Regions from separate parts of the Homo sapiens genome. Here all the other regions are linked to region 2. Evidence: promoter capture Hi-C in 16 types of primary human blood cells and fetal thymus (Javierre and others, 2016). All regions are on one chromosome and are shown on one strand. The core of a region is centred on a gene start or on the middle of the fragment in contact, and the rest is flanking DNA. Distances in the headings are between cores, read along the strand shown. Region 1 overlaps NUF2 (NUF2 component of NDC80 kinetochore complex). Region 2 holds the start of UAP1 (UDP-N-acetylglucosamine pyrophosphorylase 1). Region 3 overlaps DUSP12 (dual specificity phosphatase 12).

Evidence for each region. Contacts are between HindIII fragments. The CHiCAGO score rates a contact against its expected background, and 5 or more counts as called.
Region 1: a contact is called between a fragment that was not itself captured here and the fragment with the promoter of UAP1 in region 2, in 1 of 17 cell types (fetal thymus). The highest score is 7.7, in fetal thymus.
Region 3: a contact is called between a fragment that was not itself captured here and the fragment with the promoter of UAP1 in region 2, in 1 of 17 cell types (non-activated CD4 T cells). The highest score is 6.0, in non-activated CD4 T cells.

What each region holds. Positions count from the first base shown.
Region 1 is chr1:163,328,134-163,331,532 of GRCh38, forward strand. NUF2 (NUF2 component of NDC80 kinetochore complex) reads left to right here. Exons shown (of 14, transcript NM_145697.3): 4 at 95-171; 5 at 713-774. Among named protein-coding and RNA genes, the nearest start is that of NUF2, 7.9 kb to the left of the region's middle. The HindIII fragment of the contact is 204 bases long and covers 1,402-1,605 here.
Region 2 is chr1:162,559,985-162,563,617 of GRCh38, forward strand. UAP1 (UDP-N-acetylglucosamine pyrophosphorylase 1) reads left to right here and starts at 1,738. Exons shown (of 11, transcript NM_001324116.5): 1 at 1,738-1,793. It overlaps UAP1-DT (UAP1 divergent transcript), which reads right to left and starts at 1,369. Exons shown (of 3, transcript XR_426859.4): 1 at 1,254-1,369; 2 at 491-668. RefSeq lists a silencer at 1,327-2,226. The HindIII fragment of the contact is 14,107 bases long and covers 1-2,843 here.
Region 3 is chr1:161,756,367-161,759,994 of GRCh38, forward strand. It overlaps DUSP12 (dual specificity phosphatase 12), which reads left to right. Exons shown (of 6, transcript NM_007240.3): 6 at 420-872. The coding sequence ends at 581. Among named protein-coding and RNA genes, the nearest start is that of ATF6-DT, 8.0 kb to the right of the region's middle. The HindIII fragment of the contact is 3,741 bases long and covers 190-3,628 here.

The DNA.
Region 1 (3,399 bases), core at 254-2,753, 770 kb after region 2:
GATAGTGAGTTAATATATTTTGATCTTGGTTGAAGATTTTTCTCATTTTGTCTAATCAATGTGTAATGTCGATTTTGTGGTTTATTGCATTTAGATGCCAGTGAACTCTGAAGTCATGTATCCACATTTAATGGAAGGCTTCTTACCATTCAGCAATTTAGTTACTCATCTGTGAGTAAAGAGTGATTTTATTGTCTTCGTCTACATTCGTATTTATATTACATTAAGTTTTCTTAATGACATGGTTTTCTTTGGTAAGGAATACCTACTATGTTCCTTTTCATTTCATCCCATATACATTCATTCAAACTTTCAAAATTGTAGACTGTCATCAAACAGAACTGCCTCCAACTGTGCCACTTTCTCAGCATATTTTCAATTGAACTTCTAAGATACTGTAAGTCGAAAATTGTTTACCGTCTTTGTGAAGAGGTTTGAGTTCTTAAAAGAGTCTTAGTGTCACCAAGTTTATGTACTATTTATTAGAATCTGTAACTATACTTTAGTATTGCATGACTACATGATTAATATACAGAAAAAATAGATTTCAGTGCTATAGGGTTATACATTATAGTAGAATTCTGGCTTCGTCCACTGACCTTAAGAAATATATCCAGAAATCTCTTTCTGAAAATAAGATGTTTATATCCTATAGCTTAGCATTTAATGTGCAAAATACTTTTCAATAGTCTTTTTGTACTTCATCTTCAAGGGACTCATTTTTGCCTATCTGCCGGGTGAATGACTTTGAGACTGCTGATATTCTATGTCCAAGTAAGTGAGAATTTAAAACAGTTTTAATGTCTGGCTTCGATCTACCATTTCACCTTTCCATCAGTAAATGTAAAAAAAAAAAAAAAGGAAAAAAACAACTTCAAGGAAATTGCCTTTAAAAAGTATATCCCATTTTTAAGTATGAATTTTTAATATCTTGTTGAATTTCTTTTTTTCCTTTTGAGAGCCACAGAAAAGCTGTTTTTCTGATGTTTTTTTAAAACTCCTTCCATTTAAAAAGTGTTCTATAAATTTGGGAATATGACTACAAATAATATGTAAGTATGATTTTGCATAGTGGATTCATCATACCAATTTTATCAAATGTAAGAATTACTATTTACCATATAGAAATTATCTTTTATCATTAAAAGAATAGTCATAATGTTATATTAGAATGTAAAATTCTAGCTTTAATTGTCCTTAAATTCGACTTTGATATTTATCCATCAAGTTACTGTAAGTTAAGAGATTTGGTGTGTGTATTAGGCTATTCTTGTATTGCTATAAAGAAATACCTGAGACTGGGTAATTTATAAAGAAAAGGGATTTAATTGGCTCACAGTTGTGCAGGTTATACAGGAAGCATGATGCTGGCATTTGCTTGCTTTTGGGGAGGCCTCTGGAAGCTTAGTCATGACAGAAGGCAAATGGGGAGCAGACATGTCACATAGCCAGAGGGAGCAAAAGCACAATGGGGAAGGTGCCACACACTTTTAAGTGACCAGATCTTGTGAGAACTCACTCACTGTAGACAGGACAGCATCAACCATACTCTTAACTTTACAATCCAGCAATCATGCTCCTTGGTATTTAGCCAAATGAATCGAAAGCTTATATTCACACAAAAACTTAAACACAGATGTTTAGAGCAACTTTATTCATAATTACCAGAATTTGAAAGTAGCCTTGGTGAATGAATAAACTGTAGTACATCTAGAGAATAGAAGTTATTCAACACTACAAGGAAATTAGCTAGCAAGCTATGAGAAGACATAGAGGAATATTAAATGCATATTATTAAGTGAAAGAAGCCAGTCTGCAAAGCCTACACAGCTATATATCATTCTGGAAAGGGCAATATTGTGGAGACAGTGAAAAGATCAGTGGAAACCACTGGTTAGGGGTGAGGGAGGGATGAATAGGATCCCTTTAGCACTAAGGATTTTTAGGGCAGTAACAATACTCTGTATGCTACTCTAATGGTAGATACTTGTCATTATGCATGTGTTGAAACTCAGAATGTACAGTACCAGGAGTGAACTCTAATGTAAACTGAATTTGGGATGATAATGATGTGTCAGTGCAAGTTCATCAGTTGTAACAAATATACCACTCAGGTGAAGGAAGTTGGTGGAGAGGAGTTTGTACATGTGTGGGGACCCAAGGTATATGGGAACTATCTACTTCCTGTTTAGATTTACTTTGAACTTAAAACTCCTTTCAAAAAGGAAGTCTATTAAAAATTAATTGACTGTATATTTGTCTATTTTTGAGCTCGCTATTCTACTCCATTGATCTGTATGTCTATCTTTATGTCAAGCAGTACTTTGATTATTTAGCTTTACAGTAAATTTTGAAATCAGTGTTACTCCTCTTTCTTCATCTTTGTCAAGATTATTTTGGCTATTCTGGTCCTTTGCATCTCTATATGTATTTTAGTATTTCCAGCTTGTCACTTTCTACCCTTCTTCCCCTGAAAAAGCCATTTTGATTGAGATTACTTTTAATGTATTGTTCATTTGGGGGATATTTGACAATTTAATAATATTGGGTCTTCTGATCCATATGCATGCTATATCTCTGCATTTATTAAGGCTGTTAAATTTCTCATAATGATGTACTATAAATTTCAGAGTGCAGACCTTGTATAATAAATTTTGTTAAATTTATGCCTAAATCAAATTTTTAGTGGTTCTGTAAATTTAATTTAAATTTTCTGATTAGTCATTGTTAGTGTAGACAAGTACAATTGATTTTTATATATTGACTTTGCTAAAATCACTTATTATTTGAGTAGATTTTTTTTTTTGTAGATTCCTTAGGATTTTCCTTATTGACAATTCTCAATTTTTGTTTGAGGACAAAATTTTTTTCTAATAGAGATGCCTTTTATTCTTTTTTTTTTTTTTTTACGTTTCTGCACTGGCTGGGACTTTTAGTATAATGTCGAATTGAAATGATGAGAGCAGTCATCATTACCTTGTTTCTGATCTTGGGGGAAACCATTTAGTCTTTCATTATTAAGTATTCGTTGTAGGATTTTTCTTAGATGTTTTTTATCAGAATGTACAACTTTTACTTTATTTCACTGAGAGTTTTTATCATGAAGGGTATTAAATGCCTTTTCGGCCTCTAGTGAGATAATCATGGGTTTTCTCTTTTTTAATCTACCAAATTACATTACTTGATTTTTGAATATCAAGCCAACCTTGCATTCAGGATGTGTCCTGATTGGTTATGATATATTTTTAATATATTGCTAGATTTGATTTGCTAATATTTTATTAAGTTTTTTTGTCTGTGTTCATGATGGATATTGTTCTGTAGTTTTTTTGCAATGTCACTGCAGTGACTGATCTGAATATCAGGATATACCAGTCTCATACAATACATTTGGAAAGA
Region 2 (3,633 bases), core at 488-2,987:
CTTTCTCATTTTTTACTATACCCATGTGAAATAGGTATTAGCTTCATTTCATAAAAGGACATTGGAGTTTGGAGTGGTTAAATGACTTACCCAAAGTCACACAGTTAGTAAGCGTAGACTGATTTTGAATCTGGGTCTCCTAGTTTGAATTAATAAGTGCTCAATAATAAATAATAACTAAAGGTTATTTAGTGTTTACTGTTTTACATACTTCATTTATATCGATTGGTTTAATACAACCACCAAATGGCATTTTCATCTTTATTGTCTGTTTTTTATAGATGAGAAAACTGATAGCACAAGTAGCTTGCCAAAGATCACAAGCAATAAAGCTGAAATTGTCTTCAGATCCCATGATTAAGAAACCAATCACTACACTATAAACCAATCACTACACTATTCTTCTTTCAAAGAAACGAAGGAAGTTCTAGGATCATGAGAGATGGAGAGTATTCAATCTCCTGAATGTAAATCTACCAGCATTACTTACCAAGTTTAAGTTTTTCTGTTGTTACTTGAGGCAGTGGGTGATTATGCAATTGGTAAAGGGAATGAAAAGGCCTTTGCACCCAAGAAAGTAGAAGAAAGGCGCCTGAATCTCTTTATGATAGGTGGTATGTTAAATCTAGGTATTTTCGTATTTCAACATATTCCACTTCTTGCAAAAGCTGCAAAATGCAACACAACTTTAAATGTAAACATAGCTTCCAAGGGCACAGTGCTGAACATATAATAACCTGTGTGTGCACACCCACACTAGGTTATGTAACAGGACTGTAAACACTGGTCCTGGAATGGCCTGGGAGGTCATCTAGGTCCTCCACCATCTTTCTGCAGAGTACTGAGGCCTAGCGACGTTAAGTCTGCAAACTCACAAAGATGACCCCGGGCTTATACTACCTTAGGTTACCTACTACCTTTGCTTGCATTTCCTCTCTCCTTTCCTGTCTGTTTGTGCAAAAGAAAAAAGGCCTGGCTTCGCCTTCTTGGGAGCCAAAACACAACCAAACAGAGAGCGAGTTTGGAGCCCGGCCAGGCATCTTGTGAACTGCACACAAAATAACTAGCCCAAGGTCAGAGAGCGCGCCAGGCCCGCCCTGAAAGTTTCTCCGCAGGAAAATCCACCGCCCTTTCCCAACCACCCGCGTGGGTGGCTCGGAAATCCGCCACCCTGGGGACACAGCTCCCTGCCCATCTCTGTGGCCCGCTTGTGCCCCGTGCCGCTGGGCCGACTAAGAGCCTCGGGCTCGCACCTCCCAGTACAACCTAGGGACGTCAGGGGTCCTGGGACCCACGAGCCGCTCTCTGCCGGCCGGCTCCTGGCCCCTCCTAGCAGACCCAACCGACATCCTTCACCCTCAGTTAGTGCGCAGGAGGGACCGGGACGCCAGCCGACTGCGCTCCAGAACTATTCCCATTGGGCCAGAGAATGAGTGACGCACTAGGCCCCGCCCCGGCCCGGTGGGTTACTCCTTTCATGCCCGGCCCCCATCCCTAGCCCCGCCCCGGCGCCCCGGGCCGCGGCCGCCTCCGCGTCCGCGTCGTCGTCTGTGCTCCCGGCGCTGACGTGTCTGGGCGGTCGGCTTCCACTCCTTCAGGCGTCGGCAGCCACTAGTCGTGGCGAGAGGGGCGGGGTGGCCGGGGCTGGCGCTCCACTTGGCCCCCGCTCCCGGCCCGCCCCGCCGCCGCGGCCCCCCGGATGAGGGTATATATTCGGAGCGAGCGCGGGACGCCGATGAGTGGCCGCGCGGAAGGAGCTGGAGACGGTCGTAGCTGCGGTCGCGCCGAGAAAGGTGAGGGGCTCCCAGCCCAGCGAGGAGACGGCGGGGCTCGGGACCCGGGCGGGCGGAGGGCCTGGCCCCACCGCACACACGGCCACGCGCTCAGACGTGGACACGCGTCGCACGAACGTGCACAGCGCGGGCAGCCGAGCACACGCCGAGGAGCCTCCCGCTCGCCCGCAGACACACACCCCAGCCCGTGCGCCCCGCAGTCGCACCCCATCCTCCGCCACCCCGCGAGAGGGTGTGTGGGCTGGGCAGCCGGGTGGATGGCGGGGCCAGGGATGGAATGAGCGCGCCCCAGATGGACTGGGGGCGTTGTGGGAGGAGGTCTGGGCCAGTGTCTGAGTCCGAGGGGGTCGTGTAGGCGTGTGGGGTTGGGAGTGGGGCCTCTCCCGGGTGGGCAGTAGAGACCTCGAGGCTCTCAGGCTAGGGCCTTGTGGACAGTTATACCAAGTGTGGGGGCCTGTAGTGGGACAGGAGATCGTTGGCACTGTCAGGTGGAAGCGAGTTGGTGTGTCTTGAATATATGAGGAAAAGATTTGAGAGGTCTGACAAAGACAGGGGATACATTTGGAGGACAGGACAGTGGGACAAAACCTGTTTGCTTGCCACTTTTTTCTTTCTTTTTTTTGGTTTGGTTTGCCATGATACTGGTAGTGAGAGAGAATTGAAATTTCTGGGTTTCCCCTCTCTTGGCCAAGCAGAAGGATGGTATTGGAGGGCTGAGCACACGTATGCTGAACATATGGCTGCTTGAACTTTGGCCTGTCGCTGTGCTACACTTACTTCTACATGGTTTATGAAATCTGAAATCAGGTAATAGGATTATGATCATATGTGTGTGTCATTTGGTATTGCAAAAGTTTAAGGACTTTTAGGTGAAATTCACTGGGTGTGGATCCAAGAGTTCGCCGGAAACTCAAGGCAGTTGTCTATTCCTTCACGGTTAGTCAGTTGGCTCACTTAGCTGGAGCAAAGAAAGACTTCATAGGCTGTGCTGCCAAGCATTTATAGGATTCAGTTGGTGGTTATGTCTCAACTCTGATACTGTTTTTCAAAAGCTTTAAGAGGTTTACTTATTCATTTCGAGGGCATACGTATACCAGCAGAGATAGGGGCTGGGTGGGGGAAGCCAGAAAAGGAGGGAGAAATACTGGATTTCTTTAATACTGGTATTTAAATTCTAATAAAAATATATTTGATAATGGTAGATTATTACCAAATTTTTCATATATTTTGATGCAGATGGATTAGGCTGTGGGCATGTACCAAGTTTTGTCATAATTTCTCGAGCAGATTTTCAACTTTTTCAGATTTCGGTTGTCAAAATAAAAATCCATATCTTTTAACTCTTCTGTTAATTGCTGCTTACCATTACACGTGCCTCTAAACATCGTTAATGGGAAACATGCTACTATTTTTGTGGCATGAAGGTGCTTATATCTGCCTCAAATAAATATAATAGATGAATTGTGCTTGTCCAAAACTCAAGTATGGTCGTTACATTATGAACATTATACAACATGTAGATGAACACATGTTACCAGTGGTTTACGCCCAGATATCAAAGTTTAACCTATGAGGTACCCTTTTTTTTTTTATTTTTATTTTTTGAGACGGAGAGTCTCACTCTGTCGCCAGGCTGGAGTTCAGTGGCGTGATGTCGGCTTACTACAACCTCCGCCTCCCCGGTTCAGGCGATTCTCCTGCCTCAGCCTCCTGAGTAGCTGGGACTACAGGCGCGTGCCACCATGCCCAGCTAATTTTTGTATTTTTAGTGGAGATGGGGTTTCACCATGTTGGCCAGAATGGTCTCCATCTCTTGACCTCATGATCCGCCCGCCTCGGC
Region 3 (3,628 bases), core at 810-3,309, 800 kb before region 2:
TATATGCTGTCAATACACACAGTTAGTAATACAGCATGAAAATCCTAACATGCTTTTCTATACTTTAGCCGTGATCATTTTCATTTGAAGTCCTAAATTACAAACTGATTTAAAAGCTATATATATATATATATATATATATATATATATATATGCCACATCCATGAAACCTTCCTTAATCAAATCTCAAGCTTCACTTTTCTCCCTTCAAGCTCCCTGAATACAACATTCTTCCTATGAGATAATTGTAGTCTACTATCTATTACAGTAAATTTCCAATGCATTTTATCTCACTGATTAGATTATAAACTCAACGTGGGGATCGTGTCTTGTTTTTATATCCTATATTGATTGCCAAAGATAATGATTTGTTTTGTATAAAAGTGAATGAATAAAGTAACACATTTGCTTTATTTCAGCTTCTTTGCCCAAAATGCAGTGCCAAGTTGGGTTCCTTCAACTGGTATGGTGAACAGTGCTCTTGTGGTAGGTGGATAACACCTGCTTTTCAAATACATAAGAATAGAGTGGATGAAATGAAAATATTGCCTGTTTTGGGATCACAAACAGGAAAAATATGAACATGATATTTTATAGCTTGGGAAGAAACTTGCAGATGATATGTGCTGCCTTTGCTTCTTATCATTCATGGCAGATTGTTTGTGCTTTCAACATTTCATTTGAAATGGGAGAAGATAAAATCACTTGATGTAACCTGGAAACTATGCTTTACATGGCAATCAAAGCCTTTTGATCATGTACATTTTATTTGATATTAAAATCTTTTATAACCAGATACTGTCTGTGTTTCATATATTTTTAAAAGTTTTGATTGTTGGAATGTTATATGATCTTAAGGTCTGTATAGACAAAATTATGTACAAAAATTTGAAACTATTATATTTAAATGGGTATTCTTTTATTTCCAGACACATAAAGCAGATTTGTTTGGACATATTTTGGAATTATTTCACTTTCTTTCTTTTAAGGGACATTAGTAAACCCATACATGTCTGGATTTTTTTCTTGGAAATGGAAAGGCCATTAGTAAAACGCTGATTAAAAGGCAATTTTCCTATTACTGTTCAGTAATCCCAATTATCTATATTTTTAGAAAAGTGTTTGAGATCCCTTTTGAAGTGATCTACATAAAGAAATACATAAATGTTAGATGTGTTTCTAATGATGAAGAAAACAAATGTAGAGTTACTATATATCAAGTCATTTTGTAGCCCAATATGTGAGTATTGGAAAAGGTAATACGTCCAGATTAGTTTTTTAACCTGATGTATAGAAACTAGAATTATTTTACTCATTATTAATAATTACAATTGGACCTAATTAGATATTTGAACATTTACAAGAATCAGAATTAACTAATAAAGGCCAGGTGCAGTGGCTTATGCCTATGATCCCAGCACTTTGGGAGGCCAAGGCAGGCAGATCATTTAAGGTCAGGAGTTCAAGACCAGCCTGGCCAACATGGTGAAACCCTGTCTCTACTAAAAATAAAAAAATCAGCCAGGCATGGTGGCACACGCCTGTAGTCCCAGCTGCTTGGGAGGCTACTCCAAAAAAGAACAAGAATTAATAAAGAAAAATATTCTTTATTTTTGTTGTAAATTAAGTTGTAAATTCACTAGTCATGCTCCCCACCATTTGCAGGGTTCCAACAATAGTACACATTGAGGCTTATATACATAAACACCGTAGTGGGAGTAATTTTTAAATGCAAAAATATGTTGTGAATAATGATCCTCTTAATAAATGCCTAGCTCAGTTTTTTAAAGGTATAGGAGTGTTATGGAAAATTCTTGAGAAAAATCTTAACATTGGACCTGAAGGCTTTGGCAGTTTCCATGTAATAATTTTTCTTTCTATTTTTTTTTTTTTTTTTTGAGATGGAGTTTTGTTGTTGCCCAGGCTGGAGTGCAATGGCATGATCTCGGTTCACTGCAACCTCCACTGCCCAGGTTCAAGCGATTCTCCTGCCTCAGCCTCCCAAGTAGCCACCACATCTCGCTAATTTTGCATTTTTAGTAGAGATGGGGTTTCCATATGTTGGCCAGGCTGGTCTCAAACTCCTGACCTCAAGTGATCCACCCACTTCGGCCTCCCAAAGTGCTGGGACTACAGGCGTGAGCCACCGCTCTCTGCCATAATTTTTTCTTTTGAGAAAAAATTACTCCATTTGTTTTAGCTTTCATAAAATCTACTTTTTTGCTTCATACTATTATTCTCTATTCATATATTATTCTCTAGAAAGTTTTAACAAACAGGTTGAGGAGCTCAGGTGTGGTGGCTCATGCCTGTCCCAGCACTTTGGAAGACAAAGGAGGGTGGATCATTTGAGGCCAGGAGTTCAAGACCAGCCTGGCCAATATGTGAAAACCCCGTCTCTATTTAAAAAATAATAACAGTTTGCGGCACATGAAGTTACCCCTTTTGTAGGTAAAAAGTAGTTACATAGCTGCAGTTTAATATGACTCAATGCCTATCCATCATACACTGTTGATCAGATTATAAAATCAAATAGTATGGATCAAATGCAATGTTAATTAAGTTGTAAATTCACTAGTCATGCTCCCCACCATTTGCAGGGTTCCAACAATAGTACACATCGAGGCCTATATACTATTTGTCTTAACTTTGTTTTTGTTTTTGTTTTTGTTTTTTTTGAGACGGAATCTTGCTCTGTCGCCCAGGCTGGAGTGCAGTGGCGCAATCTCGACTCACTGCAAGCTCCGCCTCCCGGGTTCACGCCATTCTCCTGCCTCTGCCTCCTGAGTAGCTGGGACTACAGGCGCCTGCCACCACGCCCGGCTAATTTTTTTGTATTTTTTAGTAGAGACGGGGTTTCACCGTGGTCTCGATCTCCTGACCTCGTGATCCGCCCGCCTCGGCCTCCCAAAGTGCTGGGATTACAGGCATGAGTGTCTTAACTTTTAAAACATAAATTGGCCGGGTGCAGTGGCTCACGCTTGTAATCCCAGCACTTTGGGAGGCCAAGGGGGGTGGATCACTGCAGGTCAGGAGTTTGAGACCAGCCTGGCCAACATAGGGAAACCCCATCTCTACTAAAAATATAAAATTAGCCAGGCATGGTGGTGGGCCCCTGTAATCCCAGCTACTTGGGAGGCGGGGAGGCAGGAGAATTGCTTGAACCTGGGAGGCGGAGTTTGCAGTGAGCCGAGATCGCGCCACTGCACTCCAGCCTGGGCGACAGAGCAAGACTCTGTCTTAAAAAAATAAAATTATAAATCAAGCTATCTGTTAAATAAAATGTTTTATTCTATTATCTTGACAAATATCCCTTCATAATGACCTGTCAGACCAGGTTTGAATTCAGAATTCTCTGATTTTATCAGATTCCATGACAAAGCATGGCAATGCAGGGAGAGGTGGCCCCCGCCCACTGGGTGCCTCCTTTATTTCCCCACCCCTTGATTTGTTCTGCATCATGAAGAGCCTGGTGCATATATATATATGTGGGTCCCCCACCTATATGTATAAGATCTGGCTACAGCCCTGGTGTATACCATTAGCCCATTTCACTCGTAAGAGGTATGAGGCCAGAGCAAGCCCTGGAAGCCGGCTTGGAGCTATTTGGGCTATTTGGGTGTTAGAT